Regions from separate parts of the Homo sapiens genome. Here all the other regions are linked to region 1. The links are contacts of gene promoters, found by promoter capture Hi-C in human tissues and cell types (Jung and others, 2019). All regions are on one chromosome and are shown on one strand. The core of a region is centred on a gene start or on the middle of the fragment in contact, and the rest is flanking DNA. Distances in the headings are between cores, read along the strand shown.

Region 1 (5,109 bases), core at 1-2,500:
AATTATTACTTATTTCTGAAACTGAGAGCTGGGACACAAGCCCAGGTCTGAACACACCAGCTCAAATCCCAGGCCCACCACCAGGAGACCTGTGGGCTGCCACTGATCCCTCTGTAAAAAGGGGCTGTTTACAAAGCCTTCAGCCCATGGCACACAGAACCCTGAAACATCGTAACACAGCAATCATATTAACTTAATACAAAAAGGTCAATTCTTTACAACTTGTATTTTGCAACAATGTTATCAAAACTGGTTCCCATACCCGGAGGGATAACCAAAAATATCAAACCAATGGCAGTAATGATGAAAACGAATCCTTATTCAGAACCTAGCAATACTACTAGAACCACCTCTCCTACAGCATCAGTCAATCCAACAACCCTTACCAAATAGTGTCTTTTTAAAACATCGTTTTTAAAGTGGAGACAGGGTCTCACAATATTGGCCAGGCTGGTCTTGATCTCCTGGGCAAGGAATCCTCCCGCCTCGGCCTCCCAAAGTGCTAGGATAACAAGCGTGAGCCGCCTCGCCAGGCTCCTACCGCCCTGCTGCCTTTCTGAGCAACTTAAGTTTTTCAGACTGTGTTGACAATTACAAGAACTATTTAATAGCTCCACTTATGCAGCACTTACTGTGTGCAAAACCCCGTGATGAGCATCTCCTGTGAATTATTTCTTCCCAAATTCACAAACTTGTCAGATGAGATTACTGTGTACCCAACGAACAGCCAGACACTGGGGCAAAGGCTCAAAAACCATCACAAGGTGGGAAGGGGCCTGAGACTCAGAGACCTGCCTGGTCCCCAAATCCAGTTATTCGGCTCTCGATCCTCTCACCCGCCGCGGCCCCCATCGAACCCGACTTTTCATACTAGAAAGTGACAGGTCCAGATAAAGGCAGCAAAGCCAAATAACTAAGAGTGGCTGCGGGTCCAGCCACCTGGGTCGGAATCCTGGCTCTGCCACTTCCTGGCTTTGTAAACCCAGTCATATCAGCCTCCGAGTACCTCCACTTGGTCATCTACTAAGTGGGGGCGGTAGGCTATGACTGACCCATCCCTGCTTTCCTGGCCCCCAGAGTAGGTCCCCAGTATCGGGAATTGCTCCCTCCGGGCAGCCGCAGACCCCCTGCCGCCCTCCAGCGTGCCCCTAGCCCAAAACCACGGCGGATGGCAGCGGATTATCCAGCCCCGAACGCCGCAAAGCGAGCTCACCATGATGGCGCCTCCTGCTCGGCCAGGTCCGGAAAGAGAGAACGGGCTGGGGTGGGCGGGGAAAGCCTCAAGCGAGTGGCGCCGCCGTGACGTCACATGGGTGCGACGCGGCGCTCTACCACGATCCGGACTTCTCTGTGGTGAGTTGGACGACTGACTAGCCGGGCGATAACGGCAGAGAGCATAGAGCGCAGGAACAAGCGCAACGTCCAAGAGGGAAGGGCCAGCACGTCGGGGGCCTCTCTGGCCCTACCCAGGCCGTGTTCTCGATAGCTTTCCGGAAGAAAGGGATCTGGGAGCGAGATGCGTGTAGCTAGCACGATGCGTCGCGCGGTGACGCTCTGGCCCGACGCCGACGGCCTCTCAGTGGCTCCCGGAGGACCCGGCGGGCCCAGTGTTGGAGGTGAGGAGGCGGGGCTGGCAGGGCTAGTCGGGGCATCTGGAAATTTCCGACCCCACGCTTCGGGCGTTTCCTTATCAGGTTCACCGCTCCCTGATCTCGCGCTGCACTTCGTAGGCGCAGCCGCTGCTTGGGAAGTCCTACTTAAGGTCTAACCCGAGATGATCTTGCTGCACCTCAATCTATAGCATCCTGTATTCCCATCCTTTGAGTTCCGCTTCTCCTTCTCCCCCGGCCCCTAGATGGCCCTTCCCTGACCTAGAAAGAGGGAGACAGAGTTTCATAGGGGAGGCAAAATGGAGACTCCGTGGCTTGGGGGTGGGGGGAATGGAGGCCCAAAGGGTAGGAAGGAGACCTAGAAAGAGGGGTGAGATGGAGACCCAGGGAGAAGTAGTGGCAAAGAAAGATGGTGAGATGGGGCCTTGCAAGGCTATAACCAAATTCAAATCCTGGCTCTGCTAGTTACTAATGGGGTGATTGGGCAAGTCATTTAACCTCTCTGTGATCTTGGGAAAATCACTTAACTTCTTTGGGCCTTACTCTCCTTATGGACAAAAAGGGGATGACAACAGGCCTGGCACACAGGGGTGTTTTTCAGGATTATGAAAGTTAATAAAACTGCTGAGGTCAATATTTTGCACATAATAAGTGCTCAATAAAAATTAGCCTTCACTCCTATTATAGCATACATATTGTGTGCAACCAGATGGACTGGCTGGGGCAGTGATTAAAATGACTTATCTACTCTTCCCCCCACCCGCCAGGGAGGCCCCTGCCTCTTGGTTCTCAGGCACATTGAGCCTGGAAGGGCCTCCTGCAGTTGGCTGTCAATGCTGCTCCTCACTTACCTCTCCTCCACAGAGCTGAAGGTCAGGCCAGGACAGTGAGACCTGACTCCTTGCTCCTACCAGCCTACTATGGCTTAAGACCCAGGGCCAGGGTCCCGTTGATGTAACAGAGCAGAGGACCAGCAGATGAATGGACACCTTGAAGCAGAGGAGCAGCAGGACCAGGTAAGGGACCATCTAAAAGCCAAGATCCTCATACTGTGGAAAGACAAAATCTGAAGCTTTTCTTTAAAAAAAAAAAAAAAAAATTGGAGGCCAGGCGTGGTAGCTCAAGCTTGTAATCCCAGCACTCTGGGAGGCCAAGGCCTGCGGATCACCTGAGGCCAGGAGTTCGAGATCAGCCTGGCCAACATGGTGAAACCCCATCTCTACTAAAAATACAAAAATTAGCCAGGCATGGTGATGCGCACCTGTAATCCCAGCTACTCGGGAGACTGAGGCAGGAGAATCATTTGAACCCGGGAGGCAGAGGTTGCAGTGAGCCGAGATCGCGCTGCACTCCAGCCTGGGTGACAGAGTGAGACTCCGTCTCAAAAAAAAAAAAGAAAAAACAGGGTCTCACTCTTGCCCAGGCTGGAAAGCAGTGGCACAATCACAGCCTACTGCAGCTGCAACCTCCTGGGCTAAAGTGATCTTCCCACCTCAGCTTCCCAAGTAGCCTCCACCATGGCTGGCTAATTTTTTTATTTTTATTTATTTATTTATTTTGAGGTGGAGTTTCGCTCTTGTTGCCCAGGCTGGAGTGCAATGGCACGATCTTGGCTCACTGCAACCTCCGCCTCCCGGGTTCAAGCAGTTCTCCTGCCTCAACCTCCCAAGTAGCTGGGATTACAGGCATGCGCCACCACACCCAGCTACTTTTGTATTTTTCATAGAGATGAGGTTTCTCCATGTTGGTCAGGCTGGTCTCAAACTCCCGACCTCAGGTGATACGCCGGCCTCGGCCTCCCAAAGTGCTGGGATTACAGGCATGAGCCACTGCACCCGGCCAATTTTTTTATTTTTTCTAGAGACTAGGTCTCCCTCTGTTGCCCAGGCTGGTCTTGAACTCCTGAGCTCAAGGGATTCTCCCACCTCAGTCTCTCAAAGTGTTGAGCTTACAGGCATGAGCCACCGCGCCCAGCCTGGGAGCCCTTCCATAAGTGATTTCAGACCTTCTCTCCAGGCAGGTGTTCCAGTGGGATAATTTAGGAATCAGAGAAACTGAGGGGTTGAGGAGGATACTTATTATTTATTATTTAGGTGCACTGGCCCAGTCAGATTAACATCGAAAAAGACTGAGCACCGAACAAAGAGTCAAGTTACATTTTAAGTATTTCGTGGGGTAGGGGGAGATCTGTGCAGGGGGAAGCATATTATAGCAGCGAGAAACAAAGACAGTTATTCAATTGAGACATGCATTACATTATTTCTTACTTTTCAAGGAAAAACATGTTTTAGGACTTGAGTTTATCCTGTCTAGTGACCTTGCAGCTGCACAGTTAGAGAAACAGGGTCTTCACGATGCCTGGGAAAGGGAGTTAGATAAGGCTCACTAGCCACAAACAGAAAAACAGGCAGTTAATTTTTAAAGGACTCAATCTCGGGCCGGGCGCAGTGGCTCACGCCTGTAATCCCAGCACTTTGGGAGGCCGAGATGGGCGGATCACGAGGTCAGGAGATCGAGACCATCCTGGCTAACACGGTGAAACCCCGTCTCTACTAAAAATACAAAAAAAATTAGCCGGGCATGGTGGCGCGCGCCTGTAGTCCCAGCTACACACGGGAGGCTGAGGCAGGAGAATGGCGTGAACCCGGGAGGCGGAGCTTGCAGTGAGTCGAGATCGCGCCACTGCACTCCAGCCTGGGCGACAGAGCGAAACTCCGTCTCAAAAAAAAAAAAAATAAAAAAAAATAAAGGACTCAATCTCTTTCTCTTCCTCAGGGGGAATTGGGTTTTTTACATACAACTGAGTTTTTGCTTACACATTCTTTAATTTCTTTTAATTCCTGTTTCAGTGTGAATAGCTTTCTCCCTACTTCCCAGACAGGACAGCTGAGGCCAAGAATTCAGGGGCTTCCCAGCAGTCACACAGCAAGTGTGTGTGAGCTGCAGGGTCCTTTCTCCTTTTCCTCCTCCCTGTCCTCTCGTCTGTGTGACTTAGGCTCTATGTTTGAATCTCAGCTTCTTTGCCCAGTGTCTCTGCCTTTCCTTCTCCCAGGGCCCCAAGCTCAGTTGCTGTGCCCCAGTCTCAGTCTTACTGGGTTTCTGTTCCCCCTTCTCTCCGTGTCATTCCTTGGCACATACTATCTGGTGCTGTTGCTACTGTGGGTTGGATGCTAGGTACATGATTTGGCAATAAGCAAACTTCTTCCTACATTTGTCTCTCTTTTTTTTTTTTTTTTTTTTTTTTTTGAGACAGAGTCTTGGTCTGTTGCCCAGGCTGGAGTGCAGTGGCATCATCTCGGCTCACTGTAACCTCCGCCTCTTGGGTTCAAGCGATCTCCTGCCTCAGCCTCCTGAGTAGCTGGGATTACAGGTGCGTGCTACCACACCTGGCTAATTTTTGTATTTTTAGTAGAGATGGGGGTTTTGGACCAGTGAGGTGGCTCACGCCTGTAATCCCAGCACTTTGGGAGGCTGAGGCGGATGGATCACGAGGTCAGGA
Region 2 (5,109 bases), core at 1,160-3,659, 510 kb before region 1:
TTACAGGTGTTAGCTACCACACCCCACTAAAAAGCTGAGTTCTGTGTTTCACGACAGTGATATTATTTATAGAAGTAGCTGGGGAAGTTATAAATCATGCGACCCCTGGTTACGTGACTCTGGAGCACATATAGAAAAGGAAGCTAAGGGATGGCAGGTCATTCTTCAACCCACGACTGTTCTTTAGCAAAGTTCCAGCACCTTCATGATTCTAACCTTGTCTTATGAATGTGACTTCAGGCCAGGCACAGTGGCTCATGGCTGTAATCCCAGCACCTTAAGAGGCCGAGGTGGGAGGATCACTTGAGGTCAGGAGTTGGAGACCAGCCTGGCCAACATGGTGAAACCTTATCTCTACTAAAAGTACAAAAGTCACCTGGGCATGATGGCGGGCGCCTGTAATCCCAGCTACTCAGGAGGCTGAGGGAGGAGAATCACTTGAACTCAGGAGGTGGAGGTGCCAGTGAGCAGAGATCATGCCATTGCACTCCAGTCTGGGCAACAAGAGTGAAACTCTGTCTCAAAACTAAATAAATAAATAAAAAGTAAATGAATGTGGCTTCAATCTCTCAACAAGGACTGGGGGTCAGTTTTCTTTGTCTCAAAGTTTAACTATGAATTAAATTCCTCTCATGGTAATTTTGGCCTCTGCACTAGAATAAGAAAAAAAAATCTAGCCTGTGAGGTTAGAAACAAGATGGTCAGTCATGTTAGCTTTCTCTCATTACTTACATTTCTGCGAAGGCAGTTTCAAGACCCCCCTTATGAAATTAATCAGCTTCCCCCCACCACCTCCAAATTCATATGTTGGACTTGTAACCCCCAGAACCTCAGAATGTGACTGTATTTGGACATAGGATTCTTTTTCGTTGTTTGCTTTTTGAGACAGGGTCTTGCTTTGTCACCCAGGCTGGAGTGCAGTGGTGTGATCGTGGCTCACTGCAGCCTCAGCCTCCTGGGCTCAAGCGAGCCTCTCACCTCAGCCTCCCGAGTAGCTGGAAGTGCAGGTACATGCTACCATCTCCAGCTAAATTTTTTATGTTTTGTAGAGATCAGGTCTTGTTATGTCACCCAGGCTGGTCTTGAACTCCTAGGCTCAAGAGAGCTTTCCACCTTGGCTTCCCAAAACGCTGGGATTATAGGCATGAGTCATCGCACTCGGCCAGACATAGGCTCTTAAAGGGGTGACTAAGTTAAAGTGGGGTCCTGAGGGTGGCCTGGAATTTGGTTTGATTGGTTTATTTTATTTTATTTTTTTTTGAGATGGAGTCTCGCTTTGTGCCCTAGGCTGGAGTGCAGTGGCGCAGTCTCGGCTCACTGCAAGCTCCGCCTTCCGGGCTCACGCCATTCTCCTGCCTCAGCCTCCGGAGTAGCTGGGACTACAGGCGCCCGCCACCACGCCCAGCTAATTTTTTGTATTTTTAGTTGAGACGGGGTTTCACTGTGTTAGCCAGGATGATCTCGATCTCCTGACCTCAGGATCCGCCCGCCTCGTCTTCCCAAAGGGCTGGGATTACAGGCGTGAGCCACCGCGCCCAGCCTGATTGGTTTTATAAGGAGAGATTAGGGCCTCTGCAAGAGGCTTCAGGAGAAACCAACCCTGCCAACACCTTGATCTTGGACTTCTAGCTTCCAGAAGTGTTAGAAAATAAATTCCTAGCCGGGCGCGGTGGCTCACGCCTGTAATCCCAGCACTTTGGAAGGCCGAGTGGGGTGGATCACGAGTTCAGGAGTTTGAGACCAGCCTGGCCAACATGGTGAAACCCCATCTCTACTAAAAATACAAAAATTAGCCGGGTGTGGTGGTGTGCGCCTGTAATCCCAGCTACTCGGGAGGTTGAGGCAGGAGAATCGCTTGAACCCCGGAGGCGGAGCTTGCCGTGAGCCGAGATCGCGTCACTGCACTCCAGCCTAGGCGACAGAGCGAGATGCTGTCTCAAAAAAAAATAAATAAATAAATAAAATAAAATAAAATAAAAAAGAAAAAGAAATCCTGTTATTTAATTGCACCCAATCCCTGGTACTTGGTTATGGCCGCCCCAGCGGGATGAAACAGCCCTCCCTGCCCCCACGGCTTGCCTGAGCCTGGGTCTGGGGCGTGTGCGCATGCGCGGTGGAGCTTGTGCTCCGGAATCCGGTGCGGAGGCTTGGGCTCCCTGCGCTTAGCGGTGTAGTCGCTGGACAGCTCCTTCAGCCGGAATCTCCGCGGGTGAAGACTGCGGGGATCCTCGGTGCCAAAGCTTCTGTGGTCCTCCTGCTTTCCTTTTCCCCCTGTGGGAGGAGGTCGCGGGCTGGAGGTGTTTCCTCCTGGTCCTGAGCAGGGCCAACCTGGAGGTAAAATGGCCCCTGCGCCTTTAAACAGCCCTCCTCGGCTTGTAGGCCCTGCTTGGTTGCTCCAGCTTTTTCAGCTGTTCCAGAGCTCACCCGGAGCTATTTTCATCCGTGGGATCACGTGGAGGGCTGGGACTTTCCAGGCTTCCTTAGTGATGTCACCCTTCTGTCATTAGGCACCCGAGACCAGTATTCAAAAAAAGAATGTTGTCGTTATATAACTATATTGGAGATAAGTATTCCTCAAAACAGATTAGCTAATCCTCCTATGCATCTGGCTGTCTAATAACCATCATATATAATATCATACTCAAATACCCAGAAAAAGAAATATTGAGGCCAGGCGTGGTGGCTTACGCCTGTAATCCTAGCACTTTGGGAGGCTGAGGCAGGCGGATCATGTGAAGTCAGGAGTTCGAGACCAGCCTGGCCAACATGGTGAAACACCTTCTCTACTAAAAATACAAAAATTAGCTCGGTATGGTGGCGTGTGCCTGTAATCCCAGCTACTACTCGGGAGGCTGAGGCAGGTGCTTCATCCTGGGAGGTGGAGGTTGCAGTGAGCCAGATCCTTAGGGCCAACTCTGGTTCATTTAATGTCCATTTTTAGAAAACCTGTGAGCTCCATTCACAGTGAAGGTTTGAAGCCCAGAAGTGGCCTCCCAACAGGGTACCACATTTCCCAGCACCTTTGCAGCTAGGTGTGGTCATGTGAGCGAGTTATGTGGTCATGTGACCGAGTTCCAGTCAGTGCAATCGGGCATCTGTGGGGAGCACCGCTTCCAAGAGTGGCTCCTAGAAACCTCCCATACTACCCTCCTGCCTACTCTTCCTGAAGCCCAGCACTAAGCGTCATCCCAACTCGATGGGTTTTGAATTTTTTTTTTTTTTTTTTGAGATGGAGTCTTACTCTTTGTCGCCCAGGCTGGTGTGCAGTGGTGCAATCTCGGCTCACTGCAACCTCCGTCTCCTGGGTTCAAGCGATTCTCCTACCTCAGCCTCCCGAGTAGCTGGGAACATAGGCATCTGCCACCACGCCCGGCTAATTATTTTTGTATTTTTAGTAGAGACAGGGTTTCACCATGTTGGCCAGGCTGGCTCGAACTGCTGAACTCAAGTGATCCACCTGCCTCGGCTTCCCAAAGTGCTGGGATTACAGTTGCGAGCCACCGCACCCAGCTTGAATTCTTATTTTTTAAAAATAGATATGAGGCCATAATCCTAGCACTTTGGGAGGCCAAGGCAGGAGTATCACCAATTTTAGAACAGGATTTCACCAGGGGGAAGATGGTCTCCCCTGCTCCCCCTAACGCCAGGCTCACCTCTTCAGTGCCCGCAACTCCAACCATCGCAGGATCTTTTCACTCCTAGACCTGACCATGCCACTGCCCCGCCTGCGGGATAAGGTTCTACACCTCGCAGGAGCTCATGAGGCTCTCCACAGTATAGTTAGTAGTTATAGATGCAGGGTCAAGGAGCTGACAGCATGGACCAAACCCTGGCCCACCACTTCCTAGATAGTGGACCTAGGGAAGGTAACTTACATCCCTGTGCCCCTCAGTGTCCTCACCTGTTAAATGGGGAGAATAAAAGTACCTACCTGGTGGAGCCATCATGAGGGTCACTGAGGAGTGAGGATGACCCTGACTAGCTTCAGCAGAGGGACATGGCGGCCGTGTGTGGCAGATGTGTTCCTGGGGCCCTGCACTGGTGCAGGGAGGAAGAGCCAAGCCCAAAGGAACCATGGTCTCCACACAAAGCCAGTAATGTGGGGATCCCCTGACATACAACATTTACTTTTTTTTTTTGCCTTAAACATTTTATTTGAAATTGAAACACAAATGCACACTAATTTGCCAGTTCTTTAAGGCAGAGCTGTATCAGGAACTCTTAGCTATGAGAAACAAGTCTTTTTTTTTTTTTTTTTTTTTTTTGAGACGGAGTTTTGCTCTTGTTGCCCAGGCTGGAGTGCAATGGCTCGATCTCGGCTCACTGCAACCTCCTCCTCCCGGGTTCAAGCGATTCTCCTGCCTCAACCTCCTGAGTAGCTGGGAGTAACAGGCATGTGCCACTACGCCCGGCTAATTTTGTATTTTTAGTGGAGACGGGGTTTCTCCATGTTGGTCAGGCTGGTCTTGAACTCCCGACCTCAGGTGATCTGCCCGCCTCGGCCTCCCGAAGTGCTGGGATGACAGGCATGAGCCACTGTGCCCGGCTGAAAGCCATGTTTTAGAGTGGCATAATCGCCCTGGGGCTTATTCTTCCCCTACTCCCATGAACAAAAGCCCACAGTTAGGCAGCTGCTGCCCTAGGTTCGCCGGTTTAGGGTCGTCAGGAGAGTTTGTTACTCTTTTTCCTCATCATTACAAGGTGGTGACTTGGCTCCAGCCATCATCTCTAGTCAAGGCAGGAGGAGGGGAGGAGCTGCCACAACCAGGGCTGTCCTTTTTGGTCAGGAAAGATGTTTCTCCAGAAGTCCCCAGCAGCCCCTGTGCTTATGTCCCCTGGGTCTGCCCACACAGGGCTACAGGGCCACTGCTAGCCCCAAGGAGACTCGGAAGGCAATGTTGTCTTCTTGGGCTACAACAAATAGAAACAGAATGCCCAAGAGATTGTGTGCACAAGAGACCATGATGGAGACACAGGAAGAGAGACAGGGAGGCTGAGTCACAGTGACAGACAGCAAAGTAAGCCTGGCACAGACTTGCACGGCAGAGAGCAAAGCCTCGCAGATAGAGAAGGAAGGGGAGAGAGGGCGGGTGGGAGACAAGGGCAGAG
Region 3 (5,109 bases), core at 1,691-4,190, 370 kb after region 1:
ACCTCTCCTCTCTTCCCCGATATTCCATGCTTCTCTCTCCTTCTAGGACTGGCTTTCTGAAACATCTGGTGGCCTCTCTTCTGTCCCCAGTCTATTACTCTTGCCTGTGGCTCCATCCACCCTTCTCCCTTGGTCTGCCTGTCCCCCTCACTCTCCAAGCTTGGCTGTTAGTAACAATAATGACGATGATCATAACAATGACAATCACCGCCCACACAATGTGCTACCTTCATGCCAAGAACTCTACTAACCACTTTGTCCTTATTAACTGTTTCCTCCTCCCAGCACCGCTAGAAGGTAGACGCTATTAGCATGTCCATTAGCCAAGGACACACAGGCAGCAAGTGGAGGGTGAACTTGAACTTCAAGCTCCAGAATCCTGCTCCTTCCTGACCTCAGGCCCACTTCTCCCCAGCTCTGCCTGGCTGGCTGGCATTCTTTTCTGAGACAGAGTCTCGCTCCGTCGCCCAGGCTGGAGTGCAGTGGCCCAATCGCAGCTCACTGCAACCTCCGCCTCCCGGGTTCAAGCGATTCTCCTGCCTCAGCCTCCCGAGTAGCTGGGATTACAGGCACCCGCCACCACACCCAGCTAATTTTTGTATTTTTGGTAGAGACGGGGTTTCGCCATGTTGACCAGGCTGTCTTTCGATCTTGCTCTCTTTCTCTCTGGGTCTGAGGACCTTGGCCTCTTGGATCTCCGTCTCAGTCTGTCTCATACTTGCCATCTGTCTGTCCATTCGCCCATGTCTGGGATCCACCCACCCACTTCCAGGCCCTGCATCTGTCTGGGTGTCCTATCACGCCTCCTTCCTGTGTCCAAGCCTGCCTCGCTCTCTGGCTGGGGCTGTCCACCCTGCACCCTCTCCGTCTGTGGCTCCCACCCCGATGGCAGGCTGTCCACCCGCTTCTGCCCTGGGCTGGGCCACGTCCCACCTTGCAGCCCTTGCTGTTCATGGAATCCAGTGTCCTCTTCAGGGCCGGGGTGGGGGCCTCCAGCAGTTCCACCTGGGTCCTCACGCCCTGCTCCGTGTACGGCCCCACCAGGAAGTAGTTGTCGCCCCATTCGTCCCCTGTCACCTTCGCCTTCGTCTGCAGCACCGTGTAGATGCCACCCACTGTGGGCCCAAGCGTGTGAGGGCAGGCCCCGGCCGAGGTCCATAGTTCTGGGGCCTGGGGTGGGGTGGGCCGGGGATGTAGGGGGCACTCAGGCCCCAGACCTCTAGCTCAGGGGGAAGAGGGGACTGGGAGCCCATAGTTTGGAGTAGGGGTTGGAAGCTTGGATGAGGGGAACACGAGGGCTGGAGGGCAGTCCTCCTGGGTCTAAGGGAGAAGGGGGCTGGGGTCAGGACCCTGAAGGAGGAGGGGGCTCAGGCTAGACTTCTGGGTCTGAGAGAGAAGGGGCTGGGTGCCGGGACCCCTTGGTCTGAAGGAATTAGGCACTGGGGCTCTAAGGATGGCAGAGCTGAGGACTGACTACCCGGACTCAGGTTCCCGAGTTCCCAGCTCACAGGAGCTGGGTTTAAATCGCAGCCAGGCTCCAAAACCCAGTGAGGGAGACCCCCTCATGGCCAATCCAGCTTCTCACCATTGCCCAAGAGAAGCCTGCATGGTCATTCCCTGCCCCCAGGGACCTTGCTGACCTGCCTCCCAATTTCCTCTCCCTGACTAGGGACACCAGCATGCAGGGCTCTGCCTCTCCCATGACCCTATCCCAGACCCAGGAGCCCCAGCCCCCAGCCTCCTCCCATCCTGGAGCCCAGGCCCTGGCGATACCCGGCTGGGTGTTCACGGGCCCCCTCTCCTCCTGGGAGACACAGTCCCTTTCTCCTCCAAGACCCAGCAAAGCAACCCCCCAGACCCTGCTCTTTGAGGTGTGAGATTGGCTTGTTCCTGGGGATTTCAGCCCCAGCCTTCTCCAAGGCCAGAACCTCAGCTTTCTGAAGCCCAAGACACAGAAATGCAGGCTCCTAGCCCCTCCCATCCTAGGGCCCAGCCTCTGACTAACTTAGGACTTCCCAGCCTTCCCCTATTCCAGTACGCATGTGTCCCAGGCCATGGGCTCCTCTACTCCTAGGAACTAATAGCTCAGGCCCTCAGCTCCTTCAAAGCCCAGGCATTCATTACAGTCTCCAGCCCGTCCCATCTTTATTCTTAAGCAGCCAGATCCTCAGGTCCTCCCACCGCCGCTCAGGCCTCCTATCTCCCAGTCAGCTCTCTCTCAAATCTGGAGTTTTATCCCCTAGACCATGCTGTTAGGGTCATAGGTCTGAAACCCCGGCAGCTTCCCAGGTTTGCACGCAGAAATCCCATCCCCCCATCCCCTTCCCTGTTCAGGACCCAGGTATCTAGTCTCTCGGAAGCCTGCCTCCAGGACCTAGGAGTCTCATTTTAGCGCCCTCTTCCCTAGGACCCAGAACCCGGGCTTCCAGCCTCCTTTCATCTTAAGTCAAACGAACCATCCCTCTCCCACCCACCTCCGGCTTCCCAGCCCCTCCTCAAGGACACAGCCTCCTTGCCCAGGTCACAAGGGTTCCCCTAGTAGCCCCGTCCTCCTACAACTCAGAGTTCCGGGCCCCCATCCACTACTGTCCTTCTCGTCAAGGGCCCCGACGCCTGGCGTGCTCACCCTTGTTAGCCACCTCCCAGGCCACTTCGAAGAGCACTGCGTTCTCCAGGTCGAATTCATCCTCCCAGTCCTCCAGTCCTGGCAGTGAGGACATGGACAAAGTGCGGTTTAAAGGCATGGCTGGCGCAGGAAGGGGGGCTCCGGGGATCTCCAGGTAGGGACCCCGGAGGTGTCTAGGGAATGCACCAGGTAGGGTGCGGGGCCGAGTAGCTGGTGCCCGACGGGAAGCTTGCAAGACGCTCGGCTTCCTATTGCAAGACCGCACCCCTGCCCCGAAGCGTTGGGACCTAGGCAGAAGGAGGCCGCAGCGTCACTGAGCCCACTGGCGCCCCTGCAGTGAAACCTCGCAGCCGCCAGGAGGCGGTGGCCGCCCCCCCCAGCCAGCGCCATTGGCCCACGCCCGGGGGCGGGGATTTCCGCGTGTCCTCATTGGTGGAACGGGTTGGAGTCGCTGTGTCCCGGCCCCGCCTCGGCCGTGAGACCTCCAGGGGGCGGAGCTTGCCGCTGCGCTTTACGGAAACGAGTGGCCTTCAGCTCTGTCAATCTGGAGCTGGAGGCCTCAAAGTGGGGAGGAGGAGGAGGGTGGGATAAAGAGGAAAGGAGCGTGGAGGACGTGTGGTTACTCAAAGAACAGCTAAGAATTTTGCAATCGGCCTGAGCGGGGCGGTGGTGGGGCTGAGCAAAAGGAGGAGGAGCCAGGAGACATTGGGAATGGACCCAGGAGTTCCGGACGCCCGTCTTCCAGCGCAGCCTCGGTGGGAGGGCGGGGCATAAAGTCCCGCCACGCCCCCACAATATTTACATATTTATGAGGAACCATCGAGATCTTTGAAGAACCAGCTAGCCTAGAGGAGCCAGAACATCTCGCTCCTCGCGCGTTTCCGTTTCCGCTAGGACTCTGGCAGTTGGTGAGCATCATGGCAACCGTTGTAAGTGTGGGTGCATGGAGGGTGAGGAGCGAGCTAGCAGTCTCGAGTTTGAGAGAGGAGGATGCTGGAGGCCCTGACTCCTGGGTCTGAGGGAGGGGGGATCTGGGGGTTCAGACTCCTGGGTCTGAAAGAGGAGGAAGCTCGGCCACCCAGATCTGGGGGAGAAGGGGACATGGGGGCTGGACTTCTGGATCTGAGGCGGGGAGGGGGCTGGGATCCCAGAATCTCGGGTCTGGCCCCATCATGCTATAGGAACTCCAACTTTCAAAATCATCTTGGCGCAACGGCCGGTTCCGCAGTCCTTGGCGCCAGTGTGTGATGAGGAGGGTTGTAGGACCTTGCGCTTCGAGCCATTTGGGAGCCTTGGATTGTTAGTGGTGCCAATGGCACTTGAGTTCCAAGCTGGAAGCACAGGCAGGTACCTGTTCAGTGTGTCTGAGAGCGCGAGGGCGCCTAGTGAGCCTTTAGTGGGAAGAAATTGTCGAGGAACAAGAGAGTCTTAGTGGAGAGGACTGAAGGATTAGGGACCCAGAAATCGGGATCTTGTCATGCTACCGTTTTGGCCATTTTCATATTTCCAGTATTTCACACGGGCTACGTCTCAGTGTAAATGCTCAATAAATTATCACTTGAATATTTGAATGAATGAATACATGTGAATGAAGGAGAGGCCAGGAAACTTGGCCTGGCACCTGCTCAATTACCTGAATAAAGAAGCGATTTTGGCCTGGCGTGGTGGCTCATGCCTGTAATCCCAGCACTTTGGGAGGCCGAGGCGGGCGGATCACTTCAGGTCAGGAGTTCGTGGCCAACATTGCGAAACCCCGTCTCTATTAAAAATACAAAAATTAGCCAGGTGTGGTGGTGCAGGCCTGTAATCCCAGCTACTCAGAAGGCTGAGGCAGGAGAATCGCTTGAACCTGGGAGGCAGAAGTTGCAGTGAGCCAAGATCGCGCCACTGCATTCCAGCCTGGGCGACAAAGCGAGACTCTGTCTCCAAAAAAAAAAAGGTAATGTGACCTGAACTTAGGGACTGGGCTGGGCTTACAGGTGCCTCAATTTCCATGATGAGCCCAGTCAAGATGGAGGAAGGGAGGGGGAGAAAGTTGTTGGTAGCTGGGGATGAGATTTGAGTCTGTTGCTGTCACCAGGGCAAGGAGGAGGAGGAGGTGGATAGGGAAGTAGAAGAGGAAGGCTATGACCAGAACTACCGTGGAGAAAGTATTGGAAGTATGAGGGGACGGTGTGTGCTGAGTTTTGAAATGACCTTGGTTTTCATGGGAACAGCGGGCAGCAAGGTTTTGGAGAGACTTATGATGAAAGAGAAAGTCTTTATAGGAGACAGTCCTTGGTAAGGGGCCTGTTTATGTTGAGAGAGCTACATTTGGGATTCCTGGATTCATGTCTTTTTTGTGGGGTGGGGATGCCTAGTCTTCTGCTTGTAGTCTGGGGGTAATGTTCTATGCTCCTGGGTTCCAGCTTCCTATAGGAGACGGTAGGTGGGAAGGTTCACACAGTGACAGGGAAAGCTTGTGACCATTGATGGCCAGAAAG
Region 4 (5,109 bases), core at 2,610-5,109, 310 kb after region 1:
CCCAAAGTGCTGGGATTACAGGCGTGAGCCACTACGCCCGCCCTCTTTTTTCTTTTTTGAGACAGAGTCTCACTCTGTTGCCCAGGCTGGAGTACAGAGGTGCCATCATAGCTTACTGCAGCCTCAACCTTCCCAGCTCAAGCGATCCTCCCGCTTCAGCCTCCCTAGTAGCTGGGAATACAGATGCACACCACCACACCTGGCTAATTTTTTGCAGGTTGGTCTCGAACTCTTGGGCTCAAGAGATCTGCCCGCCACAGTCTCCCAAAGTGCTGGGATTACAGGCATGTGCCACCGTGCCCGGCATATTTTCTTTTCAGTGTTTACCTTTTTGCCTCCTCTGAGGTGCTGGAGTGCAGCAATAAGAAAGTAATAATTTTAGGCCGGGCGCAGTGGCTCACGCCTGTAATCCCAGCACTTTGGGAGGCCGAGGAGGGCGGATCACGAGGTCAGGAGATCAAGACCATCCTGGCTAACACAGTGAAACCCTGTCTCTACTAAAAATACAAAAAATTAGCCAGGCGTGGTGGTGGGCGCCTGTAGTCCCAGTTACTTGGGAGGCTGAGGCAGGAGAATGGCGTGAACCCGGGAGGCAGAGCTTGCAGTGAGCTGAGATCGAACCACTGCACTCCAGCCTGGGTGACAGAGCAAACCTTCATCTCAAAAAAAAAATATATATATATATTATATATATATATTTTTTTTTTTAGACCGGGTCTTCCTCTGTTGCCCAGGCTGGGGTGCAGTGGTGTGATCTCGGCTCACTGTAACCTCTGCCTCCCAGGCTCACGCCACTCTCCTGCCTCAGCCTCCAGACTACAGGTGCCCGCCACCACGCCTGGCTAATTTTTTGTATTTTTAGTAGAGATGGGGTTTCACCGTGTTAGCCAGGATGGTCTTGATCTCCTGACCTGGTGATCCACCCATCTTGGCCTCCCAAAGTGCTGGGATTACAGGTGTGAGCCACTGTGCCTGGCCGCTGAGTAGTATTTTGTTGAATCCACTGGCAGCTTAAAGGACATTTGGGCTTGAGCTATGTACAGCTGCTAACACCTGTGCACTGGTTTGTGTGCAAACATGTTATTTTTTCTTTCTAGGACAAATACCTGGGAGTATCAAAATTATTTTTTGATATTTATTATTAAATGATTTTTTCTTTTTCTTCATAGTAATGATATTGTGTCCTATGTGGATTTCCCTCCCCCTAAACCTTTTTTTTTTTTTTTTTTTTTTTTTGAGACAGAGTCTCTCTCTGTCACCCGGGCTGGAGAGCAGTGGTGCGATCTTGGCTCACTGCAACCTCCTCCTCCCAGGTTCAAGCAATTTACCTGCCTCAGCCTCCCAAGAAGCTGGGATTGCAGGCGTCCGCCACCATGCTTGGCTAATTATTTTGTATTTTTAGTAGAGATGGGGGTTTCACCATGTTTGCCAGGCTGGTTTCGAACTCCTGACCTTAAGTGATCCGCCCACCACGGCCTCCCAAAGTGCTAGGATTACAGGCATGAGCCACTATGCCCTGCCCCCTCCCCCCACTTTTTTTTTTTGGTAGAGATGGGGTCTTGCTTTGTTGCCCAGGCTGGTCTCAAAGTCCTGGCTTCAAGCATTCCTCCCATTTGGGCCTCCCACAGTACTGGGATTACAGGCGTGAACCACCGTGCCTGGTCCCATTTGTGTTTCTATTCAGCAGTTTGTGTAAACTTGAAGTCTGTGAATCCATGTGTGACACTCAGGTCTTAATTATTGTCTACCAAGTAAGAGAAAGTGACAATATCCTGCCCTGTGTGAAGCTGGCCAGCCAGTTAGGAATTATCATGTCCCAACCAGCCTGGGAAACTTGGCAAGACCCTGCCTTGATAAAAAGTTTAAAAATCGACTGGACACAGTGTCTCATACCTATAATCCCAGCACTTTGGGAGGCTGAGGCAGGAGGATTGCTTGAGCCCAGGAATTGGAGACCAGCCTGGACAACAAAGTGAGACCTTTTCTGTACAAAAAATTGCTGGGCATGGTGGCTCATGCAGGTAATCTCAGCACTTTGGGAGGCCAAGGCAGGCGGATCACCTGAGGTCAGGAATTCGAGGCCAGCCTGGCCAACACAGTGAAACCCCATCTCTAGTAAAAATACAAAAATTAGTCGGGCGTGGTAGTGGGCGCCTGTCATCCCAGCTACTCGGGAGGCTGAGGTAGGAGAATTGCTTGAAACTGGGAGGTGGAGGTTGCAGTGAGCCAAGATTATGCCACTGCATGATCACCCCAGCCTGGATGACAGAGCGAGACTTCGTCTCAAAAACAAAAAACAAACAACAACAGCAACAAAAATTAGCAGGCTGGGTGCAGTGGCTCATGCTTGTAATCCCAGCACTTTGGGAGGCCAAGGCAGGCAAATCGCAAGGTCAGGAGATCGAGACCATCCTGGCCAACATGGTGAAACCCTGTCTCCACTAAAAATAAAAAAAATTAGCTGGGCATGGTGGAGGGCGCCTGTGGTCCCAGCTACTCAGGAGGCTGAGGCAGGAGAATCACTTGAACCAGGGAGGCGGAGGTTGCAGTGAGCTGAGATCACACCACTGCACTCCAGCCTGGGGATAGAGTGAGACTCCGTCTCAAACAAACAAACAAACAAATAGCGGTAAGTGGGGCACATGCCTATACTCCCAGCTACTCAGGAGGCTGAGGCGGGAAGATAGCTTGAGCCCAGGAGTACAAGGCTGCTGTGAGCTATTATCACGCCACTGCAGTCCAGCTAGGTAACAGAGTGAGACCCTATCTCTAAAATAATTAATAAATAAAACAAAATAATTAGCCAGGTGTAGTAGCCAGTAGCTACTTTGGGTCCCAGCTACTGTAGTCCCAGGTACTAGGGTGGCTAAGGCAGGAGCTAATTCCTTGAGCTAAGGAATTTGAGGCTGCAGTGAGCTATGATTGTGCCACTGCACTCCTTCCTGGGCGACAGAGCGAGACCCTATATCAATAATAATTATAATAATACAGTATATTTTACATAATAGACCATAGAGCTCAATGAATCCTCCTCACAACCCTATGTAGGTAGATGTTATCATGATCTCTGCTTTCCAGAATAGAAAAGTGAGGACCAGAGAGGGCGACCTCTTGTCCAAAAGCAATACAGCCAAGAAGGGGCAAGGAGGGTTTTGAAACCAGTCGGCCAGGCTCTGGGGCTCCTAACAAGCAAAGCAGCCTGGTTTCTAAAACTATAGCTTCTGGAAGCAGCCAATTCACAGGTCTTTACCTCCTGACTGTGAGACCTCCAAAAAATGACCAGGGATCTTGGAGTCTGTTTCCCCCTTTGTGAACTGGGGACAATAGAAGCTACTTCCCAGGTCTGCGGGGAGAAATTAGGAACGAAGAAGGTAAAGCGCAGAGCTGAGGAGCTGGTCTACAGGTGCTCTATACATATTAGTAATAATTATTAAGTTTGCTGTTACAATCCTCTCTCTCTCTGTGAACAACCCCTAATGATGCGTGGCTTTGAGAGCAAAAAAGTCAGGGCAAAGTTTTGCCACAAAGTCCAGAGGGCAAGACATTAAATCTAACTCTCAAGGATTGGTGTTGGCAAGAAAGCAAACCTCTCCTCCCCACGCTGTCCTTACCCCGCGTATCCGACGAGCCTAAAGTCATAGGTAAGAGATCTGTAGAAGCGACGTCAAGGTGTGGTTCCCTCTGTAAGGCGGAGCTAAACGGTGCATTCGCCCAGCGGGGAAGCTAGAACTAAATGACCGCTCTGCCGACTGGAGCCAACGAGAATCGGCGTAGGCGCAATACGGGCGGAGGATGGGGACCCGCCCCCGGGGTGGGCGGGGCGTCAGGTACTTAATTCGCGCCTGGAGGGACCGAAGGTGCCGAGGGCTCCGCATCGCAACCATGGCGCTGCGCTGGGGCATCGTGTCTGTCGGCCTCATCTCCAGCGACTTCACAGCCGTGCTGCAGACGCTGCCTCGCTCTGAGCACCAGGTCTGCCCGCCCTCCGGATTCTGGGGAAGAGGAGGCGGGGGGCGGGACTCCAGAGTCTAAAGGAGGAGGGAGTTTAGGGTTCAGGACTAGTGAGTGGGTCGTCATTGCAGTGAAACGTCTGTTTCCTTGCTACCTCCTTCTCCATCTCTGTTCTGCAAACCTGTGGGGAAAAGAAAGATCAGATTGTTACTGTGTCTACGTAGAAAATGAAGACATAAGAAACTCCATTTTGAACTGTACTAAGAAAAATTGTTTCTGCTTTGAGATGCTATTAACCTGTAACTTTAGCCCCAACCGTGTGCTCACAGAAACATGTCCTGTATTGAATCAAAGTTTAATGGATTTAGGGCTTTGCAGGATGTGCCTTGTTAACAATATGTTTGCAGGCAGTATGCTTGGTAAAAGTCATCGCCATTCTCCATTCTCTATTAACCAGGGGCACATTGCACTGCGGAAAGCCGCAGGGACCTCTGCCCAAGAAAGCCTGGGTATTGTCCAGGGTTTCCCCCCACTGAGAAAGCCTGAGATATGGCCTCGTGGGAAAGGAAGACCTTACATCCCCTAGCCCGACACCAGTAAAGGGTCTGTGCTGAGGAGGAGTAGTGAAAGAGGGAGGCCTCTCTGCAGTTGAGATAAGAGGAAGGCTTCTGTCTCCTGCTCTCCCTGGGAATGGACTGTCTCAGTGTAAAGCGGACCATTCCCATTCCTTCTATTCTGAGATAGGAGAAAACCTACCTGTGGCTGGAGGCGAGATATGCTGGCAGTGATACTGCTCTGTTACTCTTTGCTACACTGAGATGTTTGTGTAAAGTGAAACATAAATCTAGCCTACGTGCACATCCGGTCACAGCACCTTTCCTTGAACTTATTCATGATACAGATTCCTTTTCTACATAGACACAGTAACAATCTGATCTCTCTTTCTTTTCCCCACACAAACCTGAGTGTCTTGAGGTTTGGAAAGGCCTTGATGTAAGCTACTATGAAGATAATTTCAATATTGGGGGATTTAATAACGGCTTTCCCCCAGATCTCTCTTTCCCAGGGCCCAAATGTCCAGCCCCCGTCATCTCTTCCCCCAGGACCACGTCTCCCCTTCCCCTGGCCAGAGCCTCCTCCTTTGCCTCCCTTCCACCC
Region 5 (5,109 bases), core at 2,419-4,918, 280 kb after region 1:
TCTCCACGGAGACTTCCTCCAATTCTGCATCGGAATTGTCTGGGAGCCAGGATAAGAAAGGGGACTGGAGACCGAGATTCCTGAACACTGAGGAAGGAAGGAGGGGAGAGTTGGATTTCTGGATGCTGCAGGAGGAGGCGGCTCAGGACCTGAACTCCTTGGTGTGAGGAAGGAGTGGGTGCGGTCCTGAGCTCCTGAGTATTTTGGACAGATGGATTGAGGCACCAGACTCCTGGGTTTTAGTGGGGACGGAGTTCTGGGGTCTAGGAGGTCGGTGGACTCGCAAATACCTGCTTCTGTCCGCGGTGTCGGGAGGCCGCGCTCGCCCCTGCCGTCTCCACCACAGCTCACGGTGCCCAGGGCACTGTGGATGCCAGAGGGCAGATGTGCCTCTGACACTTTCTTCCGGAGGAAAGGGTTCCCAAGGCCTGGGAGAAGGTTCAGCGAGCCCATGAAAACGATCTACAAATTCCGGTCCTCAACCAAAATCCACCCCGTCACTGGGCTCCCAAATATCACCCCCGCCAGGCGCCGTGGCTCACGCCTGTAATCCCAGCACTTTGGGAGGCCGAGGCAGGCGGATCACCTGAGGTCGGGAGTTCGAGACCAGCCTGACCAACATGGAGAAACACCGTCTCTACTAAAAACACAAAATTAGCCGGGCTTGGTGGCGCATGCCTGTAATCACAGCTACTCGGGAGGCTGAGGCAGGAGAATCGCTTGAACCCGGGAGACGGAGGTTGCGGTGAGCCGATATCCTGCCATTGTACTCCAGCTTTGGCAACAAGAGCTAAACTCCGTCTCAAAAAAGAAAAAAAAATCACCCTGTTTCGCGGACCGCCCAAACCTTGAGACCCAGGTCCCAAACTGCATCCTAAGCCTCAAACAAGCACAGCCCTGCCGCTGGATTGTTGCGGGCTCCGCACGTAAAGAATCTCGCGCCAGGCTCTCGTAATGAGACCGCGCCCCGCCCCGGACCCCTAGACCCCGTCTCCGCAATCCCGGGTTTGGGGTGGGGGTCCCGGCTTTCCCAGGCTCCACCACCGAGCTCTGCCAAGCCCAATCATCACATTCTCTTGCCCCTTTCCCCTGCTAGTTGTACCATGCCCCGCCCCTGCGCTCTGTAGCCCTGCCCCGAACCCCTCCCTCACAGGTCCTGCCGCGGGGGGCCCCCACAAGCCTCTCCCCTGGGCGCCCACAGGCCCTGTTCTAAAGCTCTCCTGGGCCAAGGCCCGCCCCCATCCACTGCCAAGTCCCCACCCTAAGGCTCCACCCCTTCATCCACTAGGCCCCGCCCACAGACTCCCACAGGCCCCTCCCCTCCAGGCGAACGCCCCCAGGGGTCTTTGGTCACCTCTGTCACCTAAAAGGCGCTCCTCCCGCAGACAAGAGCGCCAAAGCCACGGGGAAGCGTCAGGATTGGCCTGAACCATGAGGAGCTCCTGGCGCTTCTGTCGCTGCTTCTTTTCAAACAGCCGCCGCTGGGGAGATGGGAGAGGTGGGTGTCCGGGACAGGAACCAGATGGGAAGACAGAAGTGAGGTGGGGCCTGGGGCAAGGGCTCGCATCGGCGCGAGAGTTCGTGAACCCCTTCCTCCACTGGGGCCCACACGTCCAGGCCCTCAGTTCTTCAGCAGCTCCTCCCTTATTCCACCGTTGGACTCAGATCCAAGAGTCCTGACACCCTGTCCTCTCATCCCCCAGGACCCAGGAGTCCTGCCTTCTAGAAGCCTTGTTCCTTAGAAATTCATCACAAGGGTTTGTTTGCTTCTTTAGAACCCCCAATTCCTATTTTCTTTTCTTTTTCCTTTCTTACTTTTTTTTTTTCTTTTTGAGACAGAGTCTGGCTCTATCGCCCAGGCTGGAGTGCAGTACCACGATCTCCGCTCACTGCAGCCTCCGCCTCCCGGATTCAAACGATTCTCCTGCCTCAGCCTCCCGAGTAGCTGGGATTACAGGCGCCTGCCACCACACCTGGCTAATTTTTTGTGTGTTAGTAGAGACGGGGTTTCGCCGTGTTGGCCAGGCTTGTCTTGAACTCCTGACCTCAAGTGATCCGCCCACCTCAGCATCCCAAAGTGCTGTGATTACAGCCGTGAGCTGCCCTGCCCGGCCCCAAATTCCTATTTTCTCATTTCTCAGTGGGAAAACTCAAGGATGAGAGACAGCCAACACGGGCTGGGAGTCCTAGAGCAAGACCTGGTGGAGAGGCCCCTGGGGAGGCACAGAAGGCGGAAGAGTTGGAGTGGTGAGATTCCTGGGCACAATACCTGCTGTTCCAGCTTCTGCAGCCTCATAGCAGCGAGCTCATGCCCCAGGATGCTGAGAGAGACACAGGCCCATGGTGACAGTGCACAGGGAACCTCGGTTGCCCAAGAGAGTCCCTCCTTCCCCCATCCTGCCCCTATCTCAGCTTGGGTTCTGGGCACCTGTGAGGTCACAGGAGGTGCAGAACCTGAGCCTGCTCCACCAGTTATAGGGCCCTTTCTCCTGGCACTGGCCCACAGAAGCCGGGACCCAGAGATCCCAGGTCCCTCCTGTCTCAGGATTCAGGAGTCTGGGGCCCCCAACCCCTTCTCTTTCAGACCCAGAAGTCTGCACCCTAGCCCCATCCCTTCAGGACACAGGAGTCCAGGTCCCCAGCCCCTTCCTGCAAGGCCGATGGTGCTGAACCTGCAAACATGGTTATGAAGCCAGAGCCGAGTGCACGGGGTCCCCAGCCCTTTCCACCTCCACCCCTACCCATCTGTTTCCCTACTCACTCTCTCATCAATGTGTCATTATCCTGAGACATTCTGCAGAAGCAAGAATGAGGAGTCAGGATCAGAACCAACATCCCAATGGATCCTGCCCACCAGCACCTAATCTTTAGCCTTATTTATTTATTTATTTATTTATTTATTTATGTATTTAGAGACAGCTGAGCCTCGCTCTGTCGCCCAGGCTGCAGTGCAGTGGCGCCATCTCGGCCACTGCAACCTCCACCTCCTGGGTTCAAGCGATTCTCCTGCCTCAGCCTCCCGAGTAGCTGGGACTACAGGCGTCCGCTATTCTGCCTAATTTTTTTGTATTTTAGTAGATACCGGTTTTCACTATGTTGGCCAGGCTGGTGCCGGACTCCTGACCTCAGGTGATCTGCCCGCCTTGGCCTTCCAAAGTGCTAGGATTACAGGCATGAGCCACAGTGCCCGGCCTGATCCTTACCTTTAAATTTGCTTCCGGACCCAGGCAGCCCGAATCCCAGCACCCACTCCTGTCGGGATCTAGTAGCCTGTTTCCAGCTTCCCACGGGGGTCCGCAAGTCCGCTTCTCTCTCCCCCAAATATCTAATTCTCCAGCACCCAGGCATCAGAACTCAGGACTGTGCACTTCAAACACCCAGCCCCCAGCGGCCTAGAACTCCACTGCCCACCTGCCTGGGATCCGGGAGACTTGTTCTCCTCACCAGGTGCCTGGAGAGGCTGCTCACATTGATGCCTCGGTACCTTGCCTCTCTGGCCAATCTCTAAACATACCTGATCCTCTCTTTGGAAGCTGGGGACCTAATCTCGGGATATCTGCGAAATAGGGAGGAGAAGAAAGACGGCTCAGAGGGAGGGAGGATTCCCTCTGGGACCTGAACTGGTCCACTCCCTTCTGACCCTCCACTCTCCACTTCCAACAAAGTAACGAACTCGGTCACTGATGCAGCCAGGCAACCCTGCTCCGGGGGTTCTGAACACGAATGCCGTGTGGGGGTTCCTTAAAGAGACCAGAGACCGGCCCGGCGCGGTGGCTCACGCCTGTAATCCCAGCACTTTGGGAGGCCGAGGCGGGCGGATCACGGGGTCAGGAGATCTAGACCATCCTGGCTAACATGGTGAATCCCCGTCTCTACTAAAAAAAAATATATATATATACACAAAAAAATTAGCCGGGCGTTGTGGCGGGCGGGCGCCTGTAGTCCCAGCTACTCGGGAGGCTGAGGCAGGAGAATGGCGTGAACCCGGGAGGCGGAGCTCGCAGTGAGCTGAGATCGCGCCACTGCACTCCAGCCTGTGTGACAGAGGTAGACACCGTCTCAAAAAAAAAAAAAAAAAGAGAGAGAGAGAGCGGGAGACCAGAGACCTCGCGGCCTCACTGTACACATCTCGCTTACAAGAAACTTAAAAGAGGCGGGGCGCAGTGGCTCACGCCTGTAATCCCAGCACTTTGGGAGGCGGAGACGGGGAGGCAAGATTGCTTGAGTCCAGGAGATCCAGATCCAGACCAGCAACACAGAGATTTTTTTTTTTTTTTGAGACGTAGTCTCACTCTGTCGCCCAGGCTGGAGTGCAGTGGCGCGATCTCGGCTCACTGCAACCTCCGCCTCCCGGGTTTAAGAGATTGTCCTGCCTCAGCTTCCTGAGTAGCTGGGATTACAGGCATGCGCAACCACGCCTGGCTAATTTGTATTTTTAGTGGAGGCGAGGTTTCTCCATGTTGGCCAGGCTGGTCTCAAACCCTTGACCTCAGGTGATCTGCCTGCCTCAGCCTCCCAAAGTGCTGGGATTACAGGAGTGAACCCCCAAGCCCGGCTTGACATCCGTCTCTTTAAAAAACAACAACAACAAAGTGTGAGAAGTGTGAAAGACAGAACGTTAAAAAAAAAAAAAGGCTAAAAAAGAATTAAAGATTTAAATATTTGTATTAAAAATTTAAAAAATATACATTAGCCAGGCATGGTAGTGTGGCCTGTGGTCCCATCTACTTGGGAGGCTGACGCGGGAGGATTGCTTGGGCCTGGGAGGTAGAGGCTGCAGTGAGAAGTGATTGCGCCACTGCACTCCAACCTGGGTGACAGAGCAAACCCTGTCTCGAATAATAAGAAGAAGAAGAAAGAAACTCATAAGAAAGGCTATGCAATTGCTACCGCGCTATAACTTCCAGGCACTTCGTGGGGCGAAAATAAATGGGAAAACTACAGCTCCCATGAGGCGAAGGGGCCACGATGCCCGCGGAAGTTATTTTTCCCCCGGCCGGCAGGGAGTTGTAGTTATCTTTGAAAGCCTTCTCTCTCTTTTGGCATAGGCGGGAAATGTGGCGTCAAGAGGCTGGGATTCCGAGAAAGAAGCGAGGCTTTCACGAAAAT

Evidence for each region. Contacts are between HindIII fragments. The study calls those that stand out against the background at their distance.
Region 2: a contact is called between the fragment with the promoter of PLA2G4C here and the fragment with the promoter of RPL18 in region 1, in 1 of the 25 tissues and cell types used here (dorsolateral prefrontal cortex).
Region 3: the fragment with the promoter of GYS1 here is called in contact with the fragment with the promoter of RPL18 in region 1 in 1 of the 25 tissues and cell types used here (spleen).
Region 4: the fragment with the promoter of DHDH here is called in contact with the fragment with the promoter of RPL18 in region 1 in 2 of the 25 tissues and cell types used here (pancreas and spleen).
Region 5: the fragment with the promoter of TULP2 here is called in contact with the fragment with the promoter of RPL18 in region 1 in 1 of the 25 tissues and cell types used here (psoas muscle).

The regions. Positions count from the first base shown.
Region 1 is chr19:48,617,928-48,623,036 of GRCh38, forward strand. RPL18 (ribosomal protein L18) reads right to left here and starts at 1,251. Exons shown (of 7, transcript NM_000979.4): 1 at 1,214-1,251. The coding sequence starts at 1,216. It overlaps SPHK2 (sphingosine kinase 2), which reads left to right and starts at 1,579. Exons shown (of 7, transcript NM_020126.5): 1 at 1,579-1,616; 2 at 2,475-2,626. The coding sequence starts at 2,588. RefSeq lists enhancers at 1-722, 993-1,672, 1,833-1,922. The HindIII fragment of the contact is 9,176 bases long and covers 1-5,109 here.
Region 2 is chr19:48,108,408-48,113,516 of GRCh38, forward strand. It overlaps PLA2G4C (phospholipase A2 group IVC), which reads right to left and starts at 2,410. Exons shown (of 17, transcript NM_003706.3): 1 at 2,080-2,410. RefSeq lists an enhancer at 2,226-2,385. The HindIII fragment of the contact is 42,556 bases long and covers 1-5,109 here.
Region 3 is chr19:48,990,369-48,995,477 of GRCh38, forward strand. GYS1 (glycogen synthase 1) reads right to left here and starts at 2,941. Exons shown (of 16, transcript NM_002103.5): 1 at 2,627-2,941; 2 at 934-1,115. The coding sequence starts at 2,744. It overlaps RUVBL2 (RuvB like AAA ATPase 2), which reads left to right and starts at 3,519. Exons shown (of 15, transcript NM_006666.3): 1 at 3,519-3,555. The coding sequence starts at 3,544. RefSeq lists enhancers at 2,498-2,637, 3,328-3,417 and a silencer at 2,848-3,207. The HindIII fragment of the contact is 7,369 bases long and covers 2,065-5,109 here.
Region 4 is chr19:48,929,840-48,934,948 of GRCh38, forward strand. It overlaps DHDH (dihydrodiol dehydrogenase), which reads left to right and starts at 3,860. Exons shown (of 7, transcript NM_014475.4): 1 at 3,860-3,972. The coding sequence starts at 3,883. RefSeq lists an enhancer at 3,433-3,934. The HindIII fragment of the contact is 30,682 bases long and covers 1-5,109 here.
Region 5 is chr19:48,895,076-48,900,184 of GRCh38, forward strand. It overlaps TULP2 (TUB like protein 2), which reads right to left and starts at 3,669. Exons shown (of 13, transcript NM_003323.3): 1 at 3,515-3,669; 2 at 2,762-2,794; 3 at 2,270-2,321; 4 at 1,355-1,481; 5 at 291-428; 6 at 1-87. The coding sequence starts at 2,793. RefSeq lists enhancers at 1-616, 3,064-3,879, a silencer at 1,043-1,182 and a cis regulatory region at 3,414-4,413. The HindIII fragment of the contact is 17,343 bases long and covers 1-5,109 here.